3 separate regions of the Homo sapiens genome follow, and regions 2 and 3 are each linked to region 1. Evidence: promoter capture Hi-C in human tissues and cell types (Jung and others, 2019). All regions are on one chromosome and are shown on one strand. The core of a region is centred on a gene start or on the middle of the fragment in contact, and the rest is flanking DNA. Distances in the headings are between cores, read along the strand shown.

Region 1 (3,312 bases), core at 402-2,901:
GAGGGGATTTTGTGAGCCCATTTGACAGGAAAGAAAGTCAAGGCTGAGAGAGCCGATGGCCATGCTTACCCAAAGCCAGACGGGTTGATATGATGTTGATCTGGGCTTCCCAGCCAGGTGGTCTAACTCCAGGGCCAGAATTCTCAGCCATTCATAATGTGAGGGTGCTTGGGGATGAGCCCCCAGCTGGGCACACTTCAACTGTGGTTACTGTCATTTTTGTCAGTGGTGACTGGGCCCCTGTGATGGCACACTCCAGTCAGCTGGCCTTTGTACAGTTTTGTCTACCCTACTCCCCACCCCCACGAAGAGCCACCAGGGAACCCCTTAGTCCTGGAGAAGGCATTGACTACTCTACCAGGGGTTCCTGAAGCCCCTTGGTCCCCTTTGTCAGGCCTGCTGGGCACAACTCGAGCCTGGGGTCACTGCGCGCTCCCTAGCTTCTCCCCGAGTCCTGCTGCAGGAAGAAGCCCCGACCCCGCACAGGTCAGGATTCCGTGGGCAAAAACAACCCCAGTAACCTTGGTCTGAATAGCCGGGCTTGTCCCGCACCATGGGGGTCTCAGTGGGCCTGGGATCCTCCTGCATCTTCTTGGAGGCCCCGGTCCCACTGGGCCCGGCACAAAGGGCAGCTCTGGGTACCTACAGGCCAGGCCCCGACTGGCGCAGAGAGTGCAGCGGCTCTCATATTGCGAGGTGACGCGACTCCCTCCCGCAGGCCCCAGGAAGCTCCTGGAGGCGCGCAGGTGCCGGCCAGGTGAGACTGGAGAAAGGCGCGCAGGGCGCAGCATAGCAGCCGCGTGGGCCGACCCAGGGCCGTAGTCCCCAAGGGCCCTTAGGGGACATTAGACGGCGAGCTCCCTCCCTTCCGAGCTCAGCCAGTTTGCCGGGTGGGGGAGGGTGGCACCTACCTCCCAAAAGCACCAGGACGCAAGCGTAGGGGAGCATGGCTGCGGGCATCCCGTCGGGGCTGGCAGGACCGCCCGCCGGGCGCTGCCACGGTGCGCAAGGGGAGGCGCGGGCGCAGGGCTCTCGGACGGCTGCGGGCGCCGGCGGCCAGGCTGGAGTCCTGCGAAGAAGTTGCGAGGGTCCTGCGCCCCCCTCGGCGCTCACACGCGCTCAGCCTTCCCGGCTGTTGATAGTTGTAAGCGGAGCTGCGCACTCATAGGTCCAACTTGCCAGAAGAGGTGGAGACAGCCCCCGGCGAGGCGCGCACACCCGCGCAGCGCGCACAGCCCCCTGGTGCAGCTCCTGCCATTCAGACCCCCAGCCCTCCCCCAGATGTCCGTCCCCTGGCCGTCGCCTTCCCCAAAGTCTTCGCAGTGGGCAAGGAGGCCTCCCCCAAGCTCTGGTCCCGGCCAAGGCAGAGCGATGCGCTCCTTGCGTCAAAGCGCACCCCTAGCCAGGCCGTTCCCTGGAAGGGCAAGCGGGGCGGGGAGTTCCTCTAAGCCCCGCCAGTCCTGGGACCCCTGAAGTTTCTATTCAGGTCTTCCAGCTACTCCTGGAAAAGTCGCGTCAACTTGGATCCCAGCAAACCCAGAAGCGCAGTGAAAGTGGCCAACCCGGTCGCCTAGAAGCCAGCCCCGGCCTCTGTCTGTAAATGAGGCCGTCACCCGCTCCCCACCACACCCAAACGCATCTAGGCAAAGTGTGGACCCGACCAGGCGGGTTTTCCTCCTTCTCGCAACTCCTCCTCCTGCCCCCCTCCCTCCCAAATCTCATCTGAGTGAGTCAGCTGAGGGTGGCAGCTCAGAAGCGAGGCAGCCGTGAGGCGGAGGACAGGCTGGGGGATCCCAAAGGGTGCGCTCCAGCCCCCAACCCAGGCACTGGGACTCTGGTGGCACCCTGGGTGGCAGGCAAGCCTTGAAATCAAGTGCACGAGCCTTGGAAAGGAGGACCGGGAGAGTTATGGCATTTATGAATGAAGAAGAGAAAGAGAATCACTCGGATGGGAAAAGTTAACTGGATTGTTCCCACCTGCATGGATCACCGGGTAACTGCAGTGGGACCGAGGGGGCGAGGCTGCGGGCTGGGGATGTGCGGGTTTCCTTGTGTTGCCACGAACCCAGAGAGGGAGAGGAAGAAGATGGAAAGAAAAAGGAAAAAGGGAAAGAAAGTAAGAGGGGAGAGAGGGGAAAACTGAGGATGAAGAGAGACAGAGAAGAGAGACCTGAGAGAGGGAGAGAAAGAAAGAGACAGAAAGAGAAATGAAAGTGAGGAAAGGGGAAACAGGCAGAGAAAGAGAGAGAAAGGGGAGGAAAGAGAAAGGGAAAAGAAAGGAGGGAGTGAAATCAACAGAAAAAAGAGAACCAGGAAGGAGGAGGGAGGGGGAGAGAGAAGAGAGAAGAGAGAGAAGAGAGAACAAGAGAGAAGAGAGAAGAAGAGAGAAGACAGAGATGCGGTCTCCCTGGGGAAAGGTTTGGAGAACTGGGCCAGGCCTGTTTCCCGGGACTCACGAGTGAGCAGTCCACCTGCCCCTCTGAAGCATTTTATAGACTCATTTGTCCCACTTTTGTGGGCTGATCATCCCACAGGGGAACAGGGGACACCACCTCACCTTTTGATTTCTTACCAGAAACTTGGGCGAGGCTTCCAGGAGCCACAAGAGCCCTTCAATCCACCCAGGGACCCCCGATGTGGGCCCACCAGCCATCCTTAGCTTTCCTCCTCTCCAGAGGCAACAGGGAATAGGAAAAAGTCCAGAGCAAGGCCACACCATGATCTTAACGCAAATGGAAATGTGAGGAAAACGATCAATTTGCTTCCTGAAAATGACATTTTTTTTTTCTGGTTTCTATGAGACTCGAGGTGGCCTTGCTGAAACTGAAATCGGTATGAGCTTTCCCTGGCAGACAATGGCCATTGTCACATATTAAATTCTCATGAAAGGGATAACTTTGTGGGCAAGAGGAGAGTTGTGCAGGGTGATTATTTATACTTGCATAATTGTGATTATTTGTGGCAATTATGGGTCTTTCAATGTACAAAATTTACAATTATGGGTAGTTTAAAAACTACATGCTAAGGCCGGGTGCCGTGGCACACACCTGTAATCCCAGCTCTTTGGGAGAGCCAGACGGGTGGGTCACCTGAGGTCAGGAGTTTAAGAGCAGCCTGGCCAACATGGTGAAACCCCGGCTCTACTAAAAATACAAAAATTAGCTGGGCGTGGTGGCGGGCGTCAGTAATCCTAGCTACTCCAGAGGCTGAGGCAGGAGAATCACTTGAACCTGGGAGGCGGAGGTTGCAGTGAGCTGAGATCATGCCATTGCACTCCAGCCTGTGTGACAAGAGTGAAACTCCATCTCAAAA
Region 2 (2,922 bases), core at 155-2,654, 160 kb after region 1:
CAAATTTAGGGGAGGTCGAAATGGGGCCTCTTCCGGGTGTCTGTTGCCTACCTGCCAGGTACGGTCCTCCAGCCCGTTGTTTCCTTCCGCGGTGAAGGAACTGTGCATTCGCTCCAGGAACACGGACCGGGAACAGGCGACCCGTGCTGCAGGGGCACTTGCCACGGCCTGCAGGAGGAAAAGCCGGGAGAAGCAGGCCCAGCTGCACCCGGAAGCATGAGCTTTCACTTCCCTGTCAGGCTTTGTCTTAGTAGTAGGTTTCCAACAAATCCATTTCCACGTCCAGGGTAAATAAGCAGCACCAGGATCATGGGGCTCTTCCACTCCTGGTGATTGAATTCCGTGGGATTGATTGGAGGGATTACAATCATGTAGCCTGTAGCAGAGACCTCAGTCACTGTGCAGAGAGATCTGGAAGCCTCATTCTGGAAACGAGTGGGACTTGATTTGGGATTTTGGGGAAAATGACGGCCTTTTTTCCCTCCTCTTTTTGTAGGCAGAACAGTATCAAAAGAAGAATCGGAAGATGCTTGTGATTTTAATATTATTTGTCATCATCATTGTGCTCATTGTTGTCCTCGTTGGCGTGAAGTCTCGATAAGTGGCATTGGGTTTTCGTGTGTGCCGCGCGTGTGGATCTCCCGGGTGTGAGGGGCTTGGCCTGCGCCCCGCCAGCTGCCCGCAGAGGTGCAGCCTCGAGGAATCTGAGGGCGTCGGGGCAGCGAACCTTTGCATCCACGGACTCCTCCTTCCCTAGTCCTGCTCAAGCGGTCCGGGGAATGGGTTTTTGTTTTTCCTTCATTGTTGAGAATTTAAGGACCTTTGATACTGCTGCACAATAGAGATTGAGTTCTGGGATCAGTTATAATATATATTTTTTTTAGAAAGAGAAAATGAGCTGAGAGTTTACAGGCACTGCAGAAGCTGTTCAGTATTATATGTGTATATGCTATTTTTTTAGCAGCCATGTCTGAGCAGAATGTTAACATAATTTTTGGAAAAATTTTCTTTAAACCATCTGGTTTTTAAGAAATTTGGTACCAAAAATTGATGAGTAGAGGCAAAAATGCCCCTTCATCTTTCTCTATATATTTTCCAGTTGAAAACAAACTAAGAAGTCCTTTAAGAATTTATAATCCGTTCCCCATTAACTTAATTTAGCTTTTCCATCACTGTTAATGATCAGAGTAACAAAGTGTGAAAAATAAGAAACCATCATTGATGTTAATTAACACATTTAGATGGGCCAGTTAAAACAGCTTCATAAGTTTTAAATTAATTGTAAATGGAATATTCCTCATTTAAAATTTTTGCACTGCATTTTCTACTGTAAACCAAAAGAGGTTACTAAGCAAAACCACCTAAATTTAAGTTGGTGATTTAAATGAATCTCACATTAAAAGAAAGCTTGACAGTGTTATGAAAGCCACCAGACTCAGCCAGTGTGTCCCCATGGGTATCCCCAGCCATCCTTGCTCAATCCATTACTTATATACTAACTACATAATGACCTGTTCAAACCAGACTCTATTTAATGAACTGTGAATTTACACAGAGGCCATTTTAAATGGGTCACCCCATTTAGGATTAGTGGATCTCAAATTATTAACCAAACATCACTCCATTTCAAAGTAAAATATTCCACCAGCGATTTGATTTATTGGCTCTTCCATTGCCACTGAGCAATGCCCAGGAAGCAGGCACATTGCCAAGGACTGGGGGCATCTTGACTAGGAAGCTCCTCGTTTGTGTGAGCGTGGGTCAGACCGCCAAAGTAGGACTTCATCGTTTACCTACCTATTATCAATATGGTGCTTGAATATATTCCTATAACTGTAGAACAGTGTGGAAAGTGATGGTAACTTTGAAGTTGTTCATGTTTTATTGGCTTTGTTTTAATTGACACTAGTAGAGTTTTAATGGTCTTTGTGTAAATTTTAATGGCTTTTCCATTGTTTTTGCTTCTCTTAAAAAGTTTAAGAAGAATATGACCTCATTAAATGTGCTGTTTTATTTGGACCAGTCACACAAAATGTCTCTCTAGAGTTGACTTTAAAGTTGTTTACAGAAATTTAAACTCAATTCCAGAGATTGAAGTTGTCCAAACAGCTCATGGGCTTAGTGTCCAAACCCCTGCCCAGCCTTCCCTTTCCAAGTTGGTGCCACCTCCAGGTAGCCATTGGTGGTTTTCCTATTACTGATGTGGCTGTGGAATGATAAGGTCCTAGAGGGGCCCTGGCATTTCAGGAAGCGGACCTGGTATTCCCTGACAAACATTGCTTAGGAAAGAGGGCCGGAGAATAAGAAGCCAGCACCTCATCAGTCAGCCCTGCAATGTGAGACTTCCGTAGCTGTTGAGAGTCACTGCAGGTGTTCTTTCATCCCATCTGATTTTAACCCATGGTTGAGACGTTCCAAGTTAGATCTGCTGCTCTTAGGTGTGGGGCTGTCCACATTAGGGAACTTGCCTCAAAAACAGTCCACAGTGGCAATACCGGACTTCTGTTCAAGCTTTTTAAAGTGCTGAGCCTTACAAACCCCTGAAGGAAAGTGACCCTTTAAGAGAGGATCATCTTTTTTTATATTTATTTTCACCAAATAGGGTGATGAGGGTTGGTTTTTGTTCCCTCAACCCATTTGGGTAAAATAACGGATCTGATTAGAAACTGTTTTAAGGAGGGGCTGGGCTCGGTGGCTCACGCCTGTAATCCCAGACTTTGAGAGGCCAAGGCGGTCACGAGGTCAGGAGTTCGAGACCAGCCTAGCCAACATGGTGAAACCCCGTCTCTACAAAAAATACAAAAATTAGCCGGGTGGGACACGCCTGTAATCCCAGCTACTCAAGAGGCTGAGGCAGGAGAATAGCTTGAACCCGGGAGGCAGAGGTTGCAGTGAGCCGAGATCACACCACTGCACTCCAGC
Region 3 (3,023 bases), core at 460-2,959, 180 kb after region 1:
GCTCGCCGTGGTCTGGGGTCTTCCAGGTGACACCTGGCCTCCTTGGAGGCAAGTCACACAGCATTGACGCACTTCTCAGACAGTCCTTGTCGAGTCCCCACATGCCCTCACAGACAGAGAACCCGCTGACAGGCGGCAGGGACGGCTCAGGCACATTCATATCAGAGCTGTCAAGGTCCAGGTTTCTACCTTTGAGGCTTTGGGGTTTAATTACCTCGGCAGGGCGGGGGAGGTGGCCAGGCTGCAGTATCGACCCGGCGCCTGCTGCCCTGACATTATGAGACTAGAGGCAGGGATGATAAACTTGCTGCTGTCCTGCACCCCCGCAAAACAGCGCTGCTCTTCTCTTAATATTGTCTTTCTGGTGAGCAAGGGAGGCCGTGCAAGCAGCCAGCTGTCTGAAGCTTCTGTGCCTGGGGATGCACAGTGGGGAACAGGGTGGGGAAGGGGTGCCCGCAGATTCAGCTGAGAGAGAGTGAAGCTCCCAGGGCAGATGTGAGACACACATGAGAAGGCAAAGAATGGCCCAAGCCAGGGCTGAAGGACACATTTTTGGGACCCACGTGATGTGTGCTTTGGTGCATGTGCCCCTCTCTGCCCTGCCTTCGAGTGTGGGCTCTGAAGCCCTGCCAGGCCAGCAGGGCCCATGTTTTCAGTTCCTGGGTGGACACGTCAGTTCCATGAGGCGAGACCTCCCTCTGTGTCCTTCCCCTCCGTGCCCAGAACCGTGCTGTGTCAAGTGACAGCACTAGGGCAGCCAGACCCCCATCTGTCTTGCAGGGTTTATGAGGGACTTGCGTGGGACTCATGAGGAAAGCAACGGCCCAGAGGGAAGGCGTCTGGGAGGGCCAGCAGGTTCAAGCACTCAGGATGTAGAGTGCTTCTGCTTGGTGGGGAGGATCTGGAAAAGCTACTGGTAGATACGGCCTATGAGAAGTGCCTCGAAGGATGACTGGGATCTTGGTGGGAGGGAAAGGACTGTGGGATCTGCAGAGGTGAGGCGTGGGAAGCTCAGGGCATACTCAGGGGCTGGCATGAGGGCCACCTACCTTCAGTTGTAGCTGGAATCAGGGGAGAAACAGGACACAGGGCTTGGAAAAGATCCAGATACAGAAGGGCAGGACCCCAGGCTGGGGACTCCTGTATATTTGTGGAGGCGCAGGGTGGTGGCTGTGCTGAAGGTTCTTTCTACAGGTGGCCGGTGGCCCTGGGTTGCTGGGGGTGGGGCAGGCAGCGAGAGCCATGGTCCCCCTCTCCCCTCTCTTTGCTGCCCTGTCAGTAGCCCTGTGGGTGATGTTTGCCTCTGCTGCCTTTTGTTCCTGGGGGATGGACAAGGGGAGAACATCTGCCTCCCACCTGGTCCCCAGTGATGGCCTTTTTCTCCCTAGTGCTTAGCGAATGCCACAGACGGCGTGCGGCTAGCAGCCCGCATCGTGGACACACCCTGCAATGAGATGAACACCGACACCTTCCTCGAGGTTTGTGGCGTCATCAGGCCGGGGGTGGGACCAGGCTGGGGTGGGTGTCATAGACTCCCAGGAGAGCCAGAGGAAACCTGGGGCTGTCCACACCCTGACGTGGCCAGGGAACCTCAGGGCTGCCCTCGGCGGAGCGCTGCTGTCTGCCGGGCTCCAGGAAGCCTCAGGAAAGGGTGTGTGGGGAGGACAGAGCCTCCTCTTCAAGGCCCCTTGGCAGGACCACAGCCAGAGCTACAGGAAATGAGAGTGTGTGGAGGGTGAGCCCCCTCTTCTGGGTTTCATCACACGCGAAGCTGGCTCCCAAGCCCGGCTCCCCGACGCGGCACAGGCAGCGGTTCATCCCTGGCCCCAGCCTCGGCCTCTCCTGTTTCCAGCCATCTTCATGTGTTGTTGTGCTGTTGTTTTTTCCATGAACATGTCCAGGAGATTAACAAAGTTGGAAAGGAGCTGGGGATCATCCCAACCATCATCCGGGATGAGGAACTGAAGACGAGAGGATTTGGAGGTGGGTGGGGGCTGCATCCCTGCAGCTCTTGGCCTCGGGCAGTGGCCAGGGGCACTTGGGTGGCAGGGGGTCGGCGGGCCACATGGCACATTGTCCCAAACTTCATCCTGCTTGTGACCTGAAAGGAATCAGCCTGTGTCCAAGCCCAGTGCCGGACCCTGGGAAGCAGCCGTCCCTGGGGGAGAAGGGGAGGCAATCCAGATTCTGATTTGGATTCTGGAAGCTGCTAGATCCAAGTCCTTCCCTGCCTGCAGCCTCTCCAGCGTCCTCGCGTGCTGCACACCCTTACTCCTGGGACTGGCTCAGCAGGGCCTTTCTGTTCCTTGAATACACAAGTTCCCATCACGGCAGGCAGGGCCTGTGTGCGGATGGCTCTCCCTATCTGGAATACTTTCCCCCAAGATATATTTTTGGTGGAGGCCATCTCAACCAATGCCCCCTCCTCAGAGAGGCCTTCCCCAAGTCCCCAGACCCACCTTTCCCCACTGCCCAGGAACCAGAGGGGCAGATAAGTATGACTCAGCTGCCCCGTGGTGCTTGTAGACTGGCAAGAGGAAGGCGGCTGTCTGTGTTATGTGTGGCTACAAAACAAATCACTCGGAAGATAGCAGCTGAATGCAGCAACACTTATCCCCTCCCCGTGCTGTGGGTTGGGGATCTTCCCCTGGTGCAGCGTCTCTGCCTGCTGTTGTCAGGTTGTTGGCTGGGGCTGCAGTCATCTGAGGGCTTGCCTGGGGCTGGCGATGTGCTTCCGGGCAGGCTCACAACAGGCTGCTGGCAGGTCTCAGGGCCTCACAGGCCATTAGCTGGAGGCAGCAGGTCCTTGCTGTTTGAGCCACCCTCCGAGCAAGGTCTCTGAGCGAGAGATAGGGATAAAGAGCGAGCAAACAAGATGGAAACTCCCATCTTTTTCTGTGACCTAATCCCAGGAGTGATATCTCATCACTTCTACCTTTTTCTTTTGGTTAGAGGTGAGACATCAGGACCTGCTCACATGAGGGGGAGGGACTGCACAAGGACATGAATACCCAGACGTGGGG

What was found. Contacts are between HindIII fragments. The study calls those that stand out against the background at their distance.
Region 2: a fragment that was not itself captured here is called in contact with the fragment with the promoter of APCDD1L in region 1 in 3 of the 25 tissues and cell types used here (H1 embryonic stem cells, IMR-90 fibroblasts and bladder).
Region 3: a fragment that was not itself captured here is called in contact with the fragment with the promoter of APCDD1L in region 1 in 1 of the 25 tissues and cell types used here (IMR-90 fibroblasts).

Annotation. Positions count from the first base shown.
Region 1 is chr20:58,513,748-58,517,059 of GRCh38, forward strand. It overlaps APCDD1L (APC down-regulated 1 like), which reads right to left and starts at 1,652. Exons shown (of 4, transcript NM_153360.3): 1 at 912-1,652. The coding sequence starts at 960. It overlaps APCDD1L-DT (APCDD1L divergent transcript), which reads left to right and starts at 1,632. Exons shown (of 7, transcript NR_034147.1): 1 at 1,632-1,993. RefSeq lists an enhancer at 255-1,253. The HindIII fragment of the contact is 21,415 bases long and covers 1-3,312 here.
Region 2 is chr20:58,675,691-58,678,612 of GRCh38, forward strand. It overlaps STX16 (syntaxin 16), which reads left to right. Exons shown (of 9, transcript NM_001001433.3): 9 at 497-2,922. The coding sequence ends at 601. All of the region lies in intron 8 of STX16-NPEPL1 (STX16-NPEPL1 readthrough (NMD candidate)), which reads left to right. Among named protein-coding and RNA genes, the nearest start is that of NPEPL1, 16 kb to the right of the region's middle. RefSeq lists enhancers at 137-662, 663-1,187. The HindIII fragment of the contact is 6,742 bases long and covers 1-2,922 here.
Region 3 is chr20:58,697,296-58,700,318 of GRCh38, forward strand. NPEPL1 (aminopeptidase like 1) reads left to right here. Exons shown (of 12, transcript NM_024663.4): 4 at 1,389-1,478; 5 at 1,902-1,983. STX16-NPEPL1 (STX16-NPEPL1 readthrough (NMD candidate)) reads left to right here. Exons shown (of 23, transcript NR_037945.1): 14 at 1,389-1,478; 15 at 1,902-1,983. Among named protein-coding and RNA genes, the nearest start is that of NPEPL1, 6.0 kb to the left of the region's middle. The HindIII fragment of the contact is 5,636 bases long and covers 1-3,023 here.